Linked DNA regions of Homo sapiens: all the other regions are linked to region 1. Evidence: promoter capture Hi-C in 16 types of primary human blood cells and fetal thymus (Javierre and others, 2016). All regions are on one chromosome and are shown on one strand. Each heading gives the region's core, a stretch centred on a gene start or on the middle of the fragment in contact. The rest is flanking DNA. Distances are from core to core; before and after follow the strand shown.

The links. The method cuts DNA at HindIII sites, captures the fragments that hold promoters and counts their contacts. A CHiCAGO score of 5 or more calls a contact.
Region 2: a contact is called between a fragment that was not itself captured here and the fragment with the promoter of PPP2R1B in region 1, in 1 of 17 cell types (naive CD8 T cells). The highest score is 5.4, in naive CD8 T cells.
Region 3: a contact is called between a fragment that was not itself captured here and the fragment with the promoter of PPP2R1B in region 1, in 2 of 17 cell types (fetal thymus and activated CD4 T cells). The highest score is 8.5, in fetal thymus.

What each region holds. Positions count from the first base shown.
Region 1 is chr11:111,763,668-111,767,898 of GRCh38, forward strand. It overlaps PPP2R1B (protein phosphatase 2 scaffold subunit Abeta), which reads right to left and starts at 2,722. Exons shown (of 15, transcript NM_002716.5): 1 at 2,581-2,722; 2 at 1,627-1,717; 3 at 1,138-1,238. The coding sequence starts at 2,694. RefSeq lists enhancers at 1,748-2,651, 2,538-2,717, 2,738-2,787. The HindIII fragment of the contact is 3,920 bases long and covers 1-3,428 here.
Region 2 is chr11:110,446,632-110,450,804 of GRCh38, forward strand. All of the region lies in intron 2 of FDX1 (ferredoxin 1), which reads left to right. Among named protein-coding and RNA genes, the nearest start is that of FDX1, 19 kb to the left of the region's middle. The HindIII fragment of the contact is 4,319 bases long and covers 1-3,852 here.
Region 3 is chr11:110,422,857-110,426,527 of GRCh38, forward strand. No RefSeq gene overlaps it. Among named protein-coding and RNA genes, the nearest start is that of FDX1, 5.3 kb to the right of the region's middle. The HindIII fragment of the contact is 184 bases long and covers 1,432-1,615 here.

The sequences.
Region 1 (4,231 bases), core at 1,472-3,971:
TAGGTTTTGGCTTGTGCAAGTGGGAAGATAGTGATACCATTTACTGAAGTGGAACAACTAAATGAGAGGTGTATTTGGGGGATAAAGCTAAGTTTTGTTTTGGGTATGTTAAGTTTGAAATACCTGTTTGACATACAAGTAGAAAAAAGCATAGGCCTATATACATAGACAGAAAAAAAACTCTCTCTCTCTCTCTCTCTCTATATATATATATTCATACTTATCTATTAATCAATCTACCTCAGGAGTTCCATGGAAAAGTCAGAACTAGAGACAGAAATCACAAGAATCAGTATTACATACCCAGTATTCAAAGCTCTGACACATACACCCCTACCTTGTCCAACTGTTGAATTCCTGGTCATCCTTTAAAACCTAGTTCAGACATCATCTCCCAAGGTCTTCCCTGATCACCCGGAGTGAATCCCTTTCTCCCTTCTATTACGTGGGTATTTTGTGGGTACTTATATCTTTCCATTTACGACTGCACGGTAATTATTTGCTGACACATAAAGGCAGTGACCTCATTAGATTCATTTTGGTGGTCTTTTTTTTTTTTTAAGAGATGGGGGTCTCACTATGTTGCCCAGGCTGGATTCAAACTCCTGGGCTCAAGTGATCCTCCAGTCTCAGCCTCCTGAGTAGCTGGTACTACAGGCTTGTGCCACCAAGCCCCCTCACATTGGTCTTCTTCAACATTAACATTGTAAACTATGATGTGTCTGATAAAGTAGACTCTCAATAAATGTCAATTAAATTGAACTAAATTCATCAAACTCACAAAGTCAGAAGCAAAAGTTAAACTGACAAAGACAAAATGCTGCTAGGTGAGAATTAAAACTTCCACCATCGCGCGGGGGAACCATAAAAACAATCAAACCCTTTTTCTCCCTACATCTAAACTAATAAGTCTACAGACGCAGAAAAGGAGGACGAAGTTCTCTTATTTACAGAAAAAAAAAAAAGGAGTTGAGTGCAAAGTGCCTACAGTACTTATTCTCTCAATGACTAACATTATGACTATCTGCCCATAAAAAGATCTGCATAAAAAATGCTGCAGTGTGTCTATCACCAAACAATGTATCATTTATACTGCAAAAGTTGTAGAAGGAGGGTAGGCAGCTTATAAATACTCACCAGCAGACAGTGGGCAAAGTCAGGACCTCCCACTAGGCCAGTGAAATTTCCCAGCTGCTCAGCAAGAGCTAATAGTACCTCATCTTCATCATAAATTGTATCTGGAAGTGACAACAACAGGACTCATCAACATGGATAGCTCTCCCACAGCTGGACACTGACACAAAACTAGGAACAGATTCACTATGCGACCAGGAAGGTGACCCAGTCAAAATCCTAACAGCATTTTCTTTCTTCTCAACCGTCTTCCTGTATCTGCTTTGCACAACGAATTAGAAATTCATACTCCCGTATCAATTACTTTCAATAGCTAAATGGTTGATGTTTGAATATATCTAGCCACAACTAACAATATACTCTGTTCTGTTTCTTTTGCACAAAAAACACCTGGCTCATTTTAATGTGGGTAATAAACTCTAAAAAAGTCAGTGTTGAAAGCTACTGGAAAATGGAATGTCCCTACCTTTCTTTAAACAAAGATTCACATACCTGTAAGAAATGGCAACAATTCACTTCGGGTCCTTTCTACTCCAAGTGCTAGGGCAATTGTTGATAACTTCTTAATACTGTTGAGTCGGAGCTTCAGAAAAGAAAGTAGAAAGAAGAACAATGTAAAGAAACGGCTGAATTTAGATCAAAAGACAAAAGGTGCTAACAGGTGAAATTATGACACAGGGGTAAGAATGAAGATAACCTTTCATTTAGATTTTACTGTTAAGGAAGCTCATAAGGACTTCCAAAAAGAAGTGTAACTCGGCCTCACTAGCCGGCGGAGGATTTCCCAGGAGAAACACTCAGAAGGGACCGGAAGAGAAATGAAGGAAAGACAATACAACACCTAGGAAGTAAGATAATTTTAAAAAGAGAGCACTTTGGCAGTGGTGAAGCAGGTGAAACGGTTGAATACAACACCTGTGGTTTCAAAGAAAAGTTCCCACAGAGCGGATACACTACTCGTCCAGATTAATCGGCCATCCCACCCCCGCTTTCTACCCAACAAGCCGAGCCAGTTCCAAGCCGAGATGAAGGGATCCAGGGGCACTTCAAAGGGCTTCTGGGCATCCTGCGCCCCTCAGCCGCTCCAGCCCCGTCTCGGCCTGGCACCGCGCTTCTCCTGCTCCCTCGCCCAAGAGACGCGGCCACCTCACGGCCCGGATGGGGCGCCCAGGCGGGAAGCGGGTTCCCCGACAACCGCCCGGGAAGGGCAAGGCTCCGGGCGGACGCCTCAGGGGGTCCGAAGCAAGGTTACTAGAGAGGTACCCGGGAGGGTCGGGGCGTGTCACCACAGCCCCTCGCGGAGCATTCCCCGCCTCCCCTTCAAGTTTCTGCTACGAGTCCGACTCATTCAGTACCTCGGCCACCCCCACCGCGACGCAGGCCTTCCCCCTTCTCTACCACGCGACCAGCCGGTCTCGCCTCGGGTCCCCGGCCTCAGTCCAGTACCTGCACGTCTTCATTGCGGAGCTCGTCGATTAAAACCGCGATCGGGTATAGCGAATCATCTCCATCTCCACCCGCTGCTCCTGGGCCGGTCCCGAGCTCTGATGCGCCCGCCATGTTCTTTCTCCTCCTGCTGCTGGTCACCGCCTCCCGCCCCGCGCCCAGGCCCCGCCCCGCGCCCAGGCAGTAGGGACGAAGGCCGCCACGCTGGTTTAGCCGAAGTTGGGGAGCCGCGTTTCTGTCCCGATGATTAAGGCTCCCTTCTGACCCCCACTGCAGGAGTTGTAGGTCTGAACTCAAGAAGACGGGTGGGCTAAGAAAGCGAATGGAACCCCTGCGTCCTTTCCCCAGCCGAAAGAAACAGGGACAGGGATTCATCCAGCTCGTTGTAGTCTGAAGGAGCCAGGAACCTACCTGAATGATCTGCGCTGTGCCCTCTTAAGACTCAGGCGGACCAAAGAGAGTGCCCGAGGCCAGGAGGAAAAAGGCTTTAGCACCTCCCCTGACTTCTTCCTGGCCCTGAGCCACTGGATCTCCAGCCCTAATTTCTCCGCTCAGACTCAAACTTCCACAGAACCCCTCCACCTCTTCCCGCGGCTCTTTCTCCAGAATGGTATCTGGCTCCTGCTCCGTAAGACAAATAACGCGGGCGGTGAGAGAAAATGAACAGTGCTGTCCAAACTCCCCAGTCAATATTTTTTCCACGCAAGCTGTTAAAAACATGCTGCTCTCTTGTTTTTGTGTTTCTTTTCAGTTTGGTACTGGAATGGTGCCTTCTGTTGTATTTTCTTCCTCCCATTTTTTAGCTCTTTAGCATGCTAGAAGTACAACAATGAAGCAAAACTAGGACAAGCTTTAATCCTTCCAAATTGGGTGGGGTGGCTACTTTCTTGAGCAAGAAAACCCAAACTGGCCTCCCTAGACCTCCAAGAGTCCTCAGAGGCAGCAAGGGGAAGAGGTGGAGGTCTGGGAGCTCGTTCTTACAAACCTGAATGGAAAGTTTTCACTTACCCCTGTCAGGGTAGCACAGAATAATTAGAATGTTTTGTTTGTTTTAGACTGGAATTTAAGCAGCTTGGAGTGATAACTACATATGGTGATCACAAGCTCCGAAATGGTAATTCTATGTGCCTGATTAATAAAACTATAAATGCAGTGTAGGAGACAAACTTTTTTAAAACATGGGATTCTGAGGCCGAGGCGGGCGGATCACTTGAGGCCAGGAGTTCGAGACCAGCCTGGCCAACTTGGTGAAACCCTGTCTCCACTAAAAAATACAAAAATTAGCTGGGCTGGTGACGGGAGCCTGTAGTCCCAGCTACTCGGGAGGCTGACATGAGAATCGCTTGAGCCCGGGAGGCAGAGGTTGCAGTGAGCCAGGATCGCACCACTGTACTCCAATCTGGGCGGCAGAGTGAGACCCCGTCTCTAAAATAAATAAATAAATAAATAGCGTTCTTGGAAGTAAGCACAATAGAGCCTTTGAATGAATGAATGAAATAATGAATAAATAAATAAATAAATAAATAAATAAATAAATAAATAAATGGGGTTCTTGGAAGTAAGCACAATAGCTAGAGCCTTTGATAGTAATGAAAGTTTGGGAACCAGCAGACCTGAACAGTTTTTCTCAAATTATGTCTGCGAATGTATT
Region 2 (4,173 bases), core at 443-2,942, 1.3 Mb before region 1:
GAACCTGAAACCGTAGAGCACCATTCCTTCCTCTTTCTTCCCAACCTGACATCCAGTCCATCGGCACCTCCTGCCAGTTGTGCCCCCAAGATTCGCCTCCAGCATGTCCTGTTGGCTCCATCCCTACAGTCGGCACGAGGGGCTGGCCAGCCACTGGGCGCCTGGAGCTGTGCTAACCTGCTTCTGCTCTGGAGTTTAACAGCCAGGTAATTTGTCCTAACAGAAATCAGACATGTCAGTCCCCTGATTAAAAGCCATGAGTGGGCCAGGCACAGTGGCTGACGCCTGTAATCCCTGCACTTTGGGAGGCCTAGGTGGGCAGATCACAAGGTCACGAGTTTGAGACCAGCCTGGGCAACATGGTGAAAACCCGTCTCTACTAAAAATACAAAAATTAGCCAGGTGTGGTGGCGTGCACCTGTAATTTCAGCTACTTGGGGAGGCCAAGGCAGGAGAATTGCTTTAACCCAGGAGTCAGAGGTTGCAGTGAGCTGAGATTGCACCATTGCACTCCAGCCTGGGTTACAGACTAAGACTCCATCTTGGAAAAAAAAAAAAAAAACCGAGATGGGCGGATCACGAGGTCAAGAGATTGAGACCATCCTGGCCAACATAATGAAACCCCGTCTCTACTAAAAATACAAAAAAAAAAAAAAAAAAAAAAAAAAAAAACCCAGCTGGGCATGGTGGTGCATGCCTGTAATCCCAGCTACTTGGGAGGCTGAGGCAGGAGAATTCCTCGAACCAGGGAGTCGGAGGTTGCAGTGAGCCGAGATTGCACCACTGTACTCCAGTCTGGCAGCAAAGTGAGACTCCTTCAAACAAACAAACAAAAAACCATGAGTGTCTTCCTTTGCACATAGGATAAAATCTGTATTCCCAGCCGTAAAAGGCTCTGCATTATCTGGCCCCATCTGCCACTCTTCCTCTTTTTTGTTTTTTTCTCATTGTTCTTTGTCTCACTTTGGTGATACTGGCCTTTTCTCAAGAGCTTGAACTCACCCAAAATTCCTACCTTTGAGACTTTGTATATACTTTACCCTCTCCCTGAGACACATCCCTCTCTCTCCCATCCCCAAAATTTAGCTTTTCATCTATCAAATCTCAATTTATGTACTTCCTTAGCGAGGCTTTGCCCAGCCACCCAGTCCAAAGTAGTGGTTCTCTTGTTACCCTGAACCCATTATTCTCTTTCTCAGCATCTTGTTCACTTGTTTTATAGTATTTGTCACAGTTTAGTAATTATGTATTTCTTGTGTATCTTTCCCAATAGACTGCGATGAGGGATAAAGTCATTCCTGTTTAATTCCTCATTGTATACGAAATGAAGTAATAAGTGAACACATGAATAAAAAGGGACAGTCATAAATTTTGGAAACAGTTCAAACTTATAAACATTCTCATTGCCAACTTTTATATTAATATAGATCTTTTGGATGATGCAGGTACCTGTTTTCAGAGTGTATCATAATATTCTGTCACTAGGGGGCAGTTACACACCTGAGATTCAACTTACCTAGTTTACTCTCAAGACATTTTTTTCTTCAATATTACCTGTTTTCTTCATGTGTCTGTTTTGAGGGAAATTATACAAATTGGAAGATCCTGATTGTGTTTGTATAAGTTTATTTGTATTCCCCTCATGCTTGAGTCCCTATTGATATAATGTATTTCTGACTATGCTAGATCAATCTTTAATCTAGAAAATTAGATTTTATATTTACACATAATTTCCATTTCTAATATATAATATTCCCACACAGCCATCCTCTAGATTTTTGTTTGGGAAAGGGGTTAGGTGTCGGGGCAGGCAATTGTATTGTCAGCATCGTAGTAGATAATACAAAATGATCTTAATATGAGATGCACACACACAAAATGTCTTTTCCCGTTGGCAAACACTCAAGTTACATGAAAGGAAAGGAGCAGAGCAGTCTGCAGAGATCTGACTTTCTCTAGGAATTAATTTCACAGCTACAACTTCTGAGGATTTGCCCAAGTACTTACTATCATTATTCCTGTTTTAAAAAAACAAAACTTGGTTCATGAGTTCACCAACCTTGAAATTAGTAAGCATGCTTTACTATTCTTCATGTCATTTTATATGCATATATTTGAAATTGTGCAGATTAACAGTATTGAGATTCTTACTCTAGCAAAATCAGAAGCATTGCAGAAACCAAAACTGTTGTCAGGAATCCTGTAATTTTAAGCTGGCAGGCTGTGTGAGTTGTAAATTTTACATTTGTTACTGCAGCTAAAGATGGACCATTTTAGCTAATAAACAAATCCCTGCCATCCTTTGTCAGCACCATGTGAACCATGCTGTTTATAGACATCTGAATATCTGTATGATTTTCTTGACTATGGTGATGATATTTTAAACTGTGGTTATAATTTAAAATCATTTTTAAAGCCTGTATCAGTTTCAGCCAAGCATTAAGTGCTAATACTGAAAAATGTATCTGAAAATGAGTTATTTTGGAATAGAGGTTAGATATAACAAAATGTTAGGAAGAAAGCCAAAAACCTGTCATGATACATACTACTGTTAATTTAGGAGAAAGCACTCTGAATTGTTAGCCAGTATGTAAACAAAATCAAAGCAGTACTAAAATGTATATACTTTTAAGTTCATGAAAATTGTTGTATAACCAAGCCAGGATGGTGGCTAAAATGCTAGCACCAGGGGCTAATATCAGTGTTGCTGTAAGGTGTTCCTAAATCAGGTTATTATCTGTGCTAAGGCATGAAGTATGTTATTATTATTAATTTTAATTGACAGATCATAATTGTATTTATGGGGTAGGTACAGTGTGATGTTTTGATACATGTATACAATGTGGAATGATTAACTTAAGCTAATAAACATATCCTTCACCTCACTTATTTTTTGTGATGAGACATCTGAAATTTACTGTTAGTAACTTTTGAAATACACAATACATTATTATTAACTGCAGTCACCATGCTGTTGCTATAGATTTTTTAAAATTAATTTTTTATAATATTTTGAGACAGAGTCTTACTCTGTCACTCAGGCTGGAGTGCAGTGGCATGATGTTGGCTCACTGCAGCCTCCACCTCCTGGGTTGAAGTGATTCTTGTGTCTCAGCCTTCCTAATAGCTGGGATTATAGGTGAGCACCACCACACCCAGCTAATTTTTGTATTTTTAGTAAAGATGGGGTTTCACCATGTTGGCCAGGCTGGTCTCGAATACCTGACCTCAAACAGTTTGCCTGCCTCGGCCTCCCAAAGTACTGGGATTACAGGCATGAGCCACTGTGCTCGGCCTGTGCTAGAGATCTTAAACACAAATTCCTCCTAACTGAAACTTTGTAGCCTTTGAACAGCACATGCTCATTTCATTTCCTTACCCCCACTCCCATCTGCTGGTAACTACCGTTGTATTTTCTAAGGCAGTGGCCCCCAACCTTTTTGGCACTAGGGACTGGTTTTGTGGAAGACAAATTTTCCATGGGCAAGGTTGGGGTGGGGATGGATTTGGGATGATTCAAGTGCATTACATTTATTGTGCACTTTATTTCTATTATTATTACACTGTATCATATAATGAAATAATTATACAACTCATCATAAGGTAGAATCAGTGGGAAGCCCTGAGTTTGTTTTCCTGCAACTAGATCTAGGTCCCATCTGGAGGTGATGGGAGACAGTAACAGATCATCAGGCATTAGATTCTCATAAGGAGGGTGCACCCTAGATCCCCCACATGCACAGTTCACAGTAGGGTTCTCATCCTATGAGAATCTAATGCAGCTGCTGATCTGACAGAGGTGGAGCTCAGACGGTAATGTGAGCAATGGGGAGCAGTTGTAAATACAGATGAAGCTTCCCTCACTTGCCCTCTGCTCACCTGCTGTGTGGCCTGTGGCTCGGGACTGCTGTAAGACATGATGTATTTTTGGTTATTTGAAAGGTGGACATAGTAATGAAAAGAATTTTACATCAAACATTTGTTCTACTTAAGTATATTTTAAAACAAAAATGTTTGAGGATTTTAGATTTTTAAACTTTAGGAATCCACTTTTCTATTTTGTTTCTTTGAGAAAATAATTCTTGAAATATGAGACTTGTACAATTTCCAAAATCTTTGAGAATGCATTTCTCATAAAACATCACTTTGTGTTTACATATATGTGTATATCCA
Region 3 (3,671 bases), core at 274-2,773, 1.3 Mb before region 1:
GATAGAGTGAGAGGAATTTTAGCTTTCCCAATGCCCACCACCAGGAAACAACTTAGAGGACTTTTGGGCCTGGCAGGCTATTGTAGAAACTGGATACCAAATTTCTCCCTTATACCTCAACCTCTGTATGCGTACCTAAAAATTGAACAACCTGATCCCATCATGTGGACTCCAGAGGGAAAATCAGATGTACAACAGATAAAGGAAATTCTAATGCCCCAGTCTTAGGGCACCCAAACTACAAATTGCCTTTCTCCCTTTTCATACGTGAATTCAGAGGTACTGCATCTAGGGTACTGACCCAGAAACTTGATGATCAGCAGAGACCTAGAGGCTATCATAGCCAACAGCTGGACCCTGTGGCTCAAGGGCTGCCTCCTTGTGTGAGAGCAATAGCAACCATGGCCCTTCTGTAAAAGTCTGTTGAAGAAACAAATATGGGTTCCCCCTTTAACATTTTTGTGCTGCATTCTCTTGAAACCCTTCTAAACTCTCATCATACTCAACATCTCTCTGTCAACTGGTTAGCCTCTTATGAAATTATTCTTTTATCATCTCCCAATATTACCATTTCCCACTGTAATAATCTTAACCTGGCCACTCTTGCTGGGCCCTTCCAACAAAACCCGTCATGACTGTGTTCTGGTAACTGACCTATTTCTCACACCCAGGACAGCCCTACAAGAGATGCCACTGGATAATGCTGAGACAGAATGGTATACAGATGGGTCTTATTTAAGAGGAAAGAATGGAAATTTTAGACCAGGATATGCTGTGGTTTCCTTACTAGAGGTAATTGAAGCCAGTCCTCTTCCCCAAGCCAGATCAGCTCAAGTGGCCAAATTGATTGTCCTGATCTGAACTTGTCAATTAGCAAAAGACAAGGCTGCAAACATTTATACTGACAGTGCTAGGCTTCTGGGGTTGCATATGACTTTGTGAGGCTATGGAAAGAGAGAGGATATTTTAACTTCCTCAGGGCAACTCATAAAAAATGGACAACAAGTATCAGAGCTGTTAGAAGCTATTCTAAAACCAAAACGTTGGCAGCTATAAAAATCCCAGGTCACTGTCAGACACCACAGAAAGTCGGGGTAACCAACTGGCTGATATCACAGTTAAAAGGGTAGCATTTGATCCACCAGCCCCAATTTGGGAAATGGCCATAAAACCTGAAACACTTAAAAACATGTTGAAAGAAACCCAGAACATAGCTCCTACAAAAGAGAAATCTACTTGGAAACAGGCAGGGGGATTTTTGTCTCCCGAAACTGAAATATGGTGTGGACCTAATAATAAACCCATTATTCCAATAGGATGTCAGGTGTCCCTTATGGAATATGTTCACAACCTAACCCACTGGAATCCTGATAAAATTATATCCTGGTATAAACAATATTACTGGAAACCATCCTTCACAGTGGCACAAAAAGCTTACTCTTGATGTGCTATTTGTCCCAAATATAATCCAGGAAAACCCCTCCATGGGGCCCAGGGTCATTTTCCCCTTCCGGCCAGACCTTTTGAGGTGTGGCAGCATGATTTTATCCAGCTGCCATCATCTGAAGGTTATCAGTGTTTTAGTAATGGTCTGCATGTTTTCCTATTGGGTTGAAGCTTTTCCCTGCAGGCAAGCAACAGCCACGTCAGTTGGAAAAATCCTACTAAAAAAAATGACTCCACTATGGGGAGTCCCCTGTGAACTTCGCAGTGATAGGGGAACTCACTTTACTGGCCAGATTTTTCAAAATATTTGTACAGTTTGGCCATATTTCAACATTTTCAGGGTGCCTACCATCCCCAGTCCTCAGGCCTGGTGGAGAGGACCAATGGAATAATTAAAACACAATTGGCTAAGTTCACAGAGGCATTTCACCTCCCCTGGCCCAAAGCACTCGCCCTAGTGCTGATTATACTGCAATCCACCCTTCTTGGAAAACATCAACCGTCCCCTTATGAAATTATAACTGGAAGGCCCATATGTATGGGAATGAAAATAACTAATCCAACTTTTCTCAAGGGAGATATATCACAATATTGGGAGGGATTCATTTATCATCTTAAAAAAGCCAAGATTTGGTAAAGAATTCCTTTCACAGTGTGCTCCCTGAAGATAAGGTGCCTGGTCAAGATCTGCAGCCTGGAGATTTGGTCTATTGAAAAAGACATTTAATAAGGGATTCTCTTCAACCTCGATGGAAAGGCCCATACTAGGTACTATTAACTAATCTACGTGCCACAAAATTAGAGGGTATAGCCTCATGGATTCACATCTCTCATCTTAAAAAGACACAAACTCCTGAGTGGACTGTAACTCCTATCAAAGACCTTCACCTCCAGTTCACTAAACATTGACCTTCAACCCAGCATAGAAGCAGATGACAGCTGTGTGGACTGTTTAACCCCAAGACACAGGACAAGGCCTGTAAACAAAAGAATGCCTATGTTTATTGTATAATAACCATGACAATTATTGTCCCAGAGCTACTGGCAACTGCTGTCTTACAAAGAACAGGACACTTGCCTTGTCTGATTTAACATCCTTTTAGTAGCTAAATGAATTTTACAACCTTGCTATTATTGACCCTATATCCCTACACCTTCTTGCCATTTTCACCCACTGACTCCAGTGAAACAAACCTGTTTCTACAATAGGCTCAGGAGTATGCAGACAGATTACAAAAGGACACCTGCTGGATATACAGACTCATGCCTCTTTCCAGTGGCTCTGGCCTGCCATGGTAGGTATCCTCCTTCCAAGGTTAGGACCAAAAATTTATTATATCACAGAAATGGTCTGGTATTCTTAGTGCTGGCATAAGAGAACAAGGAAGATGGGAAAAGTTTTTCAATGGAAAGGACCAGCTCATTAGCTCTCACTTTAGCATCCCCCACAACTAAAAAAAAAAAGGTGGTAATTATGCCCCAAACAACAGCCCATTTCAAAATGGAATAATGCAAATTTGGGATGAATTTCTCTGGCTCACCCCTTCATTTGGCCAACTCAGCCAAAATGCTGGGAGCAAAGAAACCACACCAAGGATTTATGGCCAGAAAGTATGAGAAATATGGGGTGGATACTGGGAGAATGCTGTGACCACATTATCATATTACAAGACATTGACTGGCATGCCACCGATTGGTTGTAGCAACTAGGTATTTATTGGCTAGCTCCAAATGGGACATATTGGCTGTGTGGTACTAACTTACGGCTGTGGTCACCTCCAGGGTGATTAGGAAAATGTTCCCCAGGTTACGCTTGAGAACAGGGGTGAATAATTCAGACCCTGCCAAAACCAGCAAGCCTTTTTCATTTACGATCTCACTGGACACGTTCAGTATTCCAGGGGCATGATCACTTGAAGATTGAAGCTAAGTATTGAAGACATTATATGGCCTATAGAGGCCTTAATGAATTACACCAAAAAGGCCCTAAATGATAGCCAGATGAGTATCCCGTTGCTAAATAATGAGGTCATGCTTTTGAGGAAAGCTGTGTTGCAAAACCATATGGCCTCAGATATACTCACAGCAGCACAGCGGGGGGCCTGCACCATCATAAAAGCTGAATGCTGTGTGTATATTCCACATGAATCGAAGAACATAACCTGACTTATGACTGATATGAAACCCCGGAAAACCAACCTGTCAGATCCAAAACCCTCACTAAT